2 separate regions of the Homo sapiens genome follow, and region 1 is linked to region 2. The links are contacts of gene promoters, found by promoter capture Hi-C in human tissues and cell types (Jung and others, 2019). All regions are on one chromosome and are shown on one strand. The core of a region is centred on a gene start or on the middle of the fragment in contact, and the rest is flanking DNA. Distances in the headings are between cores, read along the strand shown. Region 1 has its middle 35 kb from the start of TRIM69. Region 2 holds the start of SPG11 (SPG11 vesicle trafficking associated, spatacsin).

Region 1 (4,395 bases), core at 1,609-4,108, 110 kb before region 2:
ACCGAGTAGGGAAAAGTTGAAAGCATTTCCTCTGAGAACTGGGACAAGACAAGGATGCCCACTCTCACCACTCCTCTTCAACATAGTACTGGAAGTCCTAGCCAGAGCAATCAGACGAGAGAAAGAAAGAAAGCGCATCCAAATCAGTAAAGAGGACGTCAAACTGTCACTGTTTGCTGGCGATTTGATCATTTACCTTGGAAACCCTACGGACTCCTCCAGAAAGCTCCTAGAACTGATAAAAGAATTCAGCAAAGTTTCTGGATACAAGATTAATGTACCCAAATCAGTAGCTCTTCTATACACCAACAGCGACCAAGAGGAGAATCAAATTAAGAACTCAACCTCTTTTACAATAGCTACAGAAAAAAAAAAAAAACTTAGAAATATACCTAACTAAGGAGGCGAAAGACCTCTACAAGGAAAACTATAAAACACTGCTGAAAAAAACATAGATGACACAAACGGAAAAACATCCCATGCTCATGGATGCGTAGAATCAATATTGTGAAAATGACCACACTGCCAAAAGCAATCTACAAATTCAGTACAATCCCCATCAAAATACCACTATTATTCTTCACAGAATTAGAAAAAACAATTCTAAAATTCATATGGAACCAAAAAAGAGCCCACATAGCCAAAGCAAGACTAAGCAAAAAGAACAAATCTGGAGGCATCACACTACCTGATTTCAAACTATACTATGAGGCCATAGTCACCAAAACAGCATGGTACTGGTATAAAAATAGGCACATAGGGCCGGGCATGGTGGCTCACGCCTGTAATCTTAGCACTTTGGGAGGCCAAGGCAGGTGGATCACAAGGTCGGGAGATCAAGACCATCCTGGCTAACACGGTGAAACCTCGTCTCTACTAAAAAAAAAAATAAAAAATTAGCTGGGCATGGTGGCGGGTGCCTGTAGTCCCAGCTACTCAGGAGGCTGAGGCAGGAGAATGGCATGAGCCTGGAAGGCAGAGCTTGCAGTGAGCCAATATCGTGCCACTGCACTCCAGCCTGGAAGACAAAGCGAGACTCTGTATTTCAAAAAAAAAAAAAAAAAAAACTCATAGGCCAATGGAACAGAATGGAGAAACCGGAAATAAACCCAAATACTTACAGCCAACTGATCTTCAACAAAACAAACAAAAACATAAAGTGGGGAAAGGACACCCTTTTCAACAAATGGTGCTGGGATAATTGGCTAGCCACATGTAGGAGAATGAATCTGGATCCTCATCTCTCACCTTATACAAAAATCAACCAAGATAGATTAAGGACTTAAATCTAAGACCTGAAACTATAAAAATTCTAGAAGATAACATTGGAAAAACCCTTCTAGACATTGGCTTAGGCAAGGATTTCATGACCAATAACCCAAAACCAAATGCAATCAAAGCAAAGATAAATAATTGGGACTTAATTAAACTAAAGAGCTTTTGCACAGCAAAAGGAACAGTCGACAGAGTAAACAGACAACCCATAGAGTGGGAGAAAATCTTCACAATCTATACATCTGACAAAGGACTAATATCCAGAATCTACAACAAACTGAAACAAATCAGTAAGAAAAAAACAAACAATCCCATCAAAAAGTGGGCTGAGGACATGAATAGACAATTCTCAAACGAAGATATACAAACTGCCAACAAACATATGAAAAAAATACTCAGCATCATTAATGGTCAGGGAAATGCAAATCAAAACCAGAATGCAATACCACTTTACTCCTGCAAGAATGGCCATAATCAAAACAATAAAAAAAACTGTAGATGTTGGCATGGATGCAATGAACAGGGAACACTTCTACACTGCCGGTGGGAAAGTAAACTAGTACAGCCACTATGGGAAACAGTATGGAGATTCCTTAAAGAACTAAAAGTAGAATATCGGGGGTGTAGGTTCTTTCTGTTTTCCCTAAGTGTCAGCCAGTCTGAGAAACAAAGAGAAAGAGTACAAAGACAGGAATTTTACAGCTAGGCCGCCAGGGGTGACATCACATATCAGTAGGTCTGTGATGCCCACCTGAGCCGCAAAACCAGCAAGTTTTTATTAGGGATTTCAAAAGGGGAGGGGGTGTATGAACAGGGAGTAGGTCACAAAGATCACATGCTTCAAGGGGCAAAAAGGAGAACAAAGATCACATGCTTCTGAGGAAACAGGACTAGGGCAAAATCAGAACTCCTGATAAGGGTCTATGTTCAGCAGTGCACGTATTGTCTGGATAAACATCTTAGCAGAAAACAGGGTTCAAGAGCAGAGAACCAGTCTGACCTCAAATTTACCAGGGCTGGGGTTTCCCAATCCTAGTAAGCCTGAGGGTACTGCAGGAGACCAGGGCGTATCTCAGTCCTTATCTCAACAGCATAGGACAGACACTCCCAGAGCGGCTGTTTATAGACCTCCCCCAGGAATGCAATTCTTTTCCTAGGGTCTTAATATTATATTCCTTGCAAGGAAAAGAATTTAGCGATATCTCTCCTACTTTCACGTCCATTTATAGGCTCTCTGCAAGAAGAAAAATATGGCTCTTTTTGCCTGACCCCACAGGCAGTCAGACCTTATGGTTGTCTTCCCTTGTTCCCTAAAATCGCTATTATTCTGTTCATTTTCAAGGTGCACTGATTTCATATTCTTCAAACACACGTTTTACAATCAATTTGTACAGTTAACACAATCATCACAGGGTCCTGAGGTGACGTACATCCTCAGCTTATGAATATAACAGGATTAAGAGATTAAGACAGGCACAAGAAATTATAAGAGTATTATTAGGGAAGTGATAAATGTCCATGAAATCTTCACAATTTATGTTTTCTCTGCCGTGGCTCCAGCCGGTCCCTCTGTTTGGGATCCCTGACTTCCCGCAACAGTAGAACTACCATTTGATCGAGCAATCCTACTACTGGGTATCTACCCAGAGGAAAAGAAGTCATTATATGCAAAAGATACTTTCACATGCATGTTTATAGCAGTACAATTCACAATTGCAAAATCATGGAACCAACCTAAATGCCCATCAATCAACAAGTGGATAAAGAAAACTGTGGTATATTTATATGCTGAAATACTACTCAGCCATAAAAAGGAATGAATTAACGGCATTTGCTGTGACCTCAATGAGATTGGAGACTATTATTCTAAGTGAAGTAACTCATGGAATGGAAAACCAAACATTGTATGTCCTCACTGATATATGGGAGCTAAGCTGTGAGGATGTGAAGGCATAAGAATGATACAATGGACTTTGGGGACTTGAAGAGTGGGAGGGGGGCAAGGGATAAAAGACTACAAATATGATGCAGTGTACACTGCTCAGGTGATGGGTGCACCAAAATCTCACAAATCACCACTAGAGAACTTACTCATGTAACCAAATACCACCTATACCCCAATAACTTGTGGAAAAAAATTTTTAAAGTAAAAATAAATAAAACATGTTGCTTTAGTTCAGTGGCTGTCTGCCCCAGCCACACATTAGAATCGCCTGAGAGCTTTTAGAAACTAGTGGCTTGTAGCTACTGTACACTGGGACTCTAGCAGGGTTTCACTTGATAGAGATCTTTCCTTAATTGGTCTTGGCTGGATTCCAGGCATCTAAATTTTTTTAAAGCTTCCTACATGAACCTAATGTGTATCCAGGGTTAAGAACCATTGCATCTTAAGAATAACATATTTCAAGCCTGGGTAACATAGTGAGACCTCGTCTCTACTAAAAATAAAAATTTAGTTGGGCGTAGTTGCCTGCGCCTATAATCCTAGCTACTCGAGAGTCTGAGGTGGGAGGATCCAAGAGTCCCAGGCTGCAAAGAGCCGTGTTTGTGCCACTGTACTCCAGCCTGGGTGACAGAGTAAGACTTTGTCTTAAAAAATAATATATTTCAGCTGTAACTTTTTATACCTTAGAAGTGAATTAATTTTTAGTCAGATTACTTTCTATTGGCATGCCTTTCTTTTTCTTTTTATGCTGCTTTTATACCCTTTAAGACATTAAGCAAGATTCCAGGCACAAAATATGTTCTTACTACGTTCTGATTGAAGTGAATTCAAAAAAAACAAGGCAGTTTCTTAAATGTAGTCTTAATCCTGTTATGGCTGTTTATCCAAATCAGTTGTAAATGTATGCATATTGTATATAACAAACTACATGAATATTGTCTGTAGTATTTGCATTATTTTTCCCATACATACATTTAAGCTTTTGCCCTGACCCCCCCCAAAAAAAAACTGTGCTAATTATAATTTTAGAGGGCCAATGCTGAAGGTCCTAAAAAGTCCCCCCAAAACTGTCAACTATAGAGAATAAAGCCCATTTAGATGAGGACTTCCAAAGAAAGGAAATAGGGACAGTCAATCAAGAGTACTGCTGAGATCAATGATGTTAAGAATTTTAG
Region 2 (4,352 bases), core at 1,425-3,924:
GTTACTTGCTTCACTACTTCCTTCTTCTAAATTATGAGCATGAAGGATCATGTGTTTTTAGAAGTGGTTCTACACACTGACATTTACTGAGTAACCATTCTTGACTAAGTCTTCAGCCAACCTTTTATTCCAGGTGCTTTGGTCATTTATAGTGCTAACCTATTTGAGGGCAAGAATTAATTTAAGAACCTGAATTATTCATTCAAGAAATACTTGAGGGACAACTATTCTAGGATATAAGCATGAATAACATGGTCATCTCTGTCCTCAGAATTACTGCTAGAAAGAGTCAGATACTAATTAAATCATATAAATACTTGCAAAGTAGAATTGTGCTTGCAGTTAATATCTGTTCTCTTTATAGGTTTGCCTGGATTTACTGATCTGTTTGTTCTGGAATACGTGTATGTGGGAAGTTGAATCATCAGACACTAGCTACATAGACTATGTTTACAGGGATCCAGAGAGTCTGAAGACATTTCTTATGCCTTTATATATTGGAGAACCCTTCCCCATTTTCATATCCTTTCTTCAAAAATCTAAATGATGTGCCTAAAAATAAGACATGGCATAATAAGGTATAATTAAAGAGATAATAGAATGATGTGTTGGAACTTGCTTGTAAGTTAAAACCTGTAATGAAGGCTATCCTATGTGTGAGTGCTCCAGGAATGTCCTTTTTCTTTTTTTTTTTTTTTTTTTTTTTGAGACAGGGTCTTACTCTGTCACCCATGTGGGAGTGCAGTGCCACCATCATGGCTTACTGCAGCATTGACCTCCAGGCTCAAGTGATCCTCCCACCTCAGTCTTCTGAGTAGCTTGGATTATAGGCATGTGACACCACACCCAGCTAATATTAAAAAAAAATTTTTTTTGGCCAGGTGCAGTGGCTCATGCCTGTAATCCCAGCACTCTGGGAGGCCGAGGTGGGCAGATCACCTGAGGGTCGGGAGTTTGAGAACAGCCTGACCAACGTGAAGAAACCGCGTCTCTACTAAAAATACAAAATCAGCCAGGCATGGTGGCACACGCCTGTAATCCCAGCTACTCGGAGGCTGAGGCAGGGGAATCGCTTGAACCCAGGAGGCAGAGGTTAGAGGTTGCAGTGAGCCAAGACTGTGCCATTGCACTCCAGCCTGGACAACAAGAGCAAAACTCTCAAAAAAAATTTTTTTTGATTTTTTTTGTAGAGACAAGGGTCTCCCTATGTTGGCAAGGGTGGGCTCCAGTGATCCTCCCAACTTGGCCTCCCAAAGTGCTGGGATTTACAGGCATGAGAAGACTGTCCTGATTATAAGGGACAAGGCTTTGTTGTAGCTAACACAAGTGTAACCTTAGAAATTGCTTTAACGTTGCCATTTTTTACAGAAAGAACACAGCCCCAGCTAAGCTTAGAAGGTTGAATATATCTCCCTTGTGATAGAAAACGTTTGGTTTCAGCTGGGCACGGTGGCTCACGTCTGTAATCTTAGCACTTCCAGGCTGGGACAGGTAAATCACCGGAGGTCAGGAATTCGAAACCAGCCTGGCCAACATGGTGAAACCCCGTCTCTACTAAAATACAAAAATTTAGCTGGGTGTGGCGTGCGCCTGTAATCCCAGCTACTGGGAAGGCTGAGGCAGAATTGCTTGAGCCCAGGAGGCGGAGGTTGCAGTGAGCCGAGATCCCGCCACTGCACTCCAGCCTGAGTGACAAAGCGAGACTCCATCTCAAAAGAAAAAAAAAGTTTGCTTTTATTTTGACAAATAAGGTCATGCATTGATCAACAAATGCGGGAGTACCTTTCATGAAACATGCACTGTTTTAGGTACTAGCCAGGACAGTGGTGAGCAACAAAGTCCTTGCTCTTTTGAAGTTTACATTCTTATTGGACAGGAACTGGCAGAAAATATCAAGTAGTGATAAATACTATGATTAAAAACAAAACTAGGTGAGAGACTGCAGTAGAAGGGACCTTAGGTTGAATGGCTTGGGGAGGCCTGTCAATAGAGGTTACATTTATGCTGAAATGTTCTGAATGTGGAAGATGTGTTAAGAAGGTACAGTTGTCTTTTAGGAGACTTTACCAAAATACCTATTCAACCCCTCTTCTCACCTCAAACTCTTTGCTCCTCTCCTTCTCTTGATCTTGGATCATACTTCCCTGAGAAAACAGACAGGAGCTCTCTACCATCTCCACCCCTTACTTACCCCGTCTCTCTGACTGTTACAATGGATATTATTTGACTTCAAATTTCGGGTCAACACCCTTACTATGGATCCACACTGTAAGACGGTCCATGCTACCAAGGAAATGGCACCACCCCAGAGCCTGTAAGCGAACAGCACAATAAGAAAAGCGAAGAAAAGAGGCAGGAACTGGGTTCCAAGGGAGCTGGAGGCAGCTGGACCAAGAAGGCAAAGAGCAATGCCACAGAGCGAGAACGGCTGCAACGGCCTGCTACGCTAAGCTAGGCCTTCAAGCATGCCAGAGCAGTTAAGCAGAGTGGGACTGGCGTCAGGGCAGATGTGGCTTTGCTAGAGAGGCTGGTACTGCCCCCCACAGGAAACGAATGGAATCGACCGGAGACAGCCGAGAGGTCTCCGCGGGAGTCACGAGGCCGAGCGGGAGCCGCTACGTACACCGCGCATGCCCACGACGCAGTCAGGTTCCGGCGAAAGTGACCGGAAGTAACCGCCGGGCCAAGATGGCTGCAGAGGAAGGGGTCGCGAGTGCTGCTTCCGCCGGCGGTAGCTGGGGCACCGCGGCCATGGGGCGGGTTCTACCGATGCTGTTGGTGCCAGTCCCCGCCGAGGCGATGGGGCAGCTCGGCTCCCGGGCGCAGCTGCGCACACAGCCGGAGGCTCTGGGGAGCCTGACGGCTGCGGGCAGCCTCCAAGTGCTTTCTTTGACGCCTGGCAGCCGGGGCGGGGGTCGCTGCTGCCTGGAGGGCCCCTTCTGGCAGTAAGTGCTGAGGGAGAGTTGGGCCGTTGGGGGAGTCCAGAGCCTAGGCTCGGCTGACTGAGCCCCAAGGGCTCACGCCGAGGCCTCCCTGCAGCCATAGAGGTGGCGGGAGAAGGGTGCCAGCTGCAGGAAACGCCCCAGAGGCGAGCGTGGTTTCCTCACAGAACCTTTCCCCCGACCTGAAACGCTCGCCTCGTTGCATTCTGGCAGCCCAGCTCTCCTGTTCCGGGTGGGCGGAGACGGCACCCAGCTCCATTGCCACCTGCGGCGAACCCGGAACGGGTCTCAGCTGAGGCGCTGATTCTTTCATTATTCAACACAGGTTGATTAACTGTCACAGGGTCGAGTCCCATGCCCATTTCTTTCAGTTAAAGATGCCAGCTGAGGATCATCTCTAATTTGAATCATCCTGATACTTTTTTCATGTCCTTGAAGTGAATAGCGTTTTCTTTCACATGTAGTCCTCTTCTTCAAGGACAGAGTCCAGTTTGTCCCTTCATTTATTCAGCAAATATTGTGTGCTTGCTGTTACATAGGAGCAGTGCCTAAAAAGTTGAGTAAGACACTTCTTTCTTGCGAGGCGCGCATGTTTGGGGAAGACAAACATGATTACAATAATGCATTACTTTGTACTTCCGTAACTCTTGGTTCAGTACTTAAGAGTTTACATCATAAAGTTTGGGAACGCCCTCTTAGTGTTTTGAGTGGGCTGCTGCTTTTTTTTTTTTTTTTTTTTTTTTAAAGATAAGGTCGCTGTCGCCCAGGCTGGAGTGTAGTGGCTCAGTCACGGTTCACGGCAGCCAGCCTTGACCTCCCGGGCTCAGCCTCCCCAGCAGCTACGACTACAGGCGTGCACCACCAGGCCTGGCTAATTTTTCTAGTTTTTGTAGAGATGAGGTCTCACTGTGTTGCCTAGGCTAGTCTCAAGCTCCTGGGCTCAAGTGATCCCGCCTCTCCCTGCCAAAGTGTTGGGATTACAGGTGTGAGCCACTGAGCCTGACCTGTTCTTTTAATAATTATTAATAGTAAGTATTTTCACAACTCTTTCTTTAAGATGAGTAGCCAAAAGGTGTCTTATTAATCTTGGAATCTCCAGCTCCTCTAACAGCTCCTGACATTTAGAGATTCATTTGATACATCAGTGAATGCTTAACTCTTCTGGGTTTGTCTTCTCTACCCTTGATGTCTAGTTGCTCGAAAGAGGAATCTCTGCGTTTAGTTTATAAACTTATTATAAACTAAGTTATTTATAAACTAGTTTAGGGGAAATTAGTTTATTTAGCAGTATCAAGTACCTATGAATGTGGCTCTGTAAAGAGAGGAATGGGGCAAAGAAAAGCCGAAATCTTTAGGTGTTTGAGAACCCAGCAGGGAAGGTAAGACCGAGATGAAATAAAGGGGGCGTTC

Evidence for each region. The method cuts DNA at HindIII sites, captures the fragments that hold promoters and counts their contacts. A contact is called where the count stands out against the background at its distance.
Region 1: a fragment that was not itself captured here is called in contact with the fragment with the promoter of SPG11 in region 2 in 4 of the 25 tissues and cell types used here (dorsolateral prefrontal cortex, lymphoblastoid cells, small bowel and 1 more).

The regions. Positions count from the first base shown.
Region 1 is chr15:44,768,904-44,773,298 of GRCh38, reverse strand. No RefSeq gene overlaps it. Among named protein-coding and RNA genes, the nearest start is that of TRIM69, 35 kb to the right of the region's middle. The HindIII fragment of the contact is 5,211 bases long and covers 253-4,395 here.
Region 2 is chr15:44,661,984-44,666,335 of GRCh38, reverse strand. It overlaps SPG11 (SPG11 vesicle trafficking associated, spatacsin), which reads left to right and starts at 2,674. Exons shown (of 40, transcript NM_025137.4): 1 at 2,674-2,945. The coding sequence starts at 2,689. It overlaps PATL2 (PAT1 homolog 2), which reads left to right. Exons shown (of 18, transcript NM_001387263.1): 18 at 365-604. The coding sequence ends at 383. RefSeq lists enhancers at 2,210-2,379, 2,420-2,899, 2,374-3,330, 3,440-3,579. The HindIII fragment of the contact is 12,399 bases long and covers 419-4,352 here.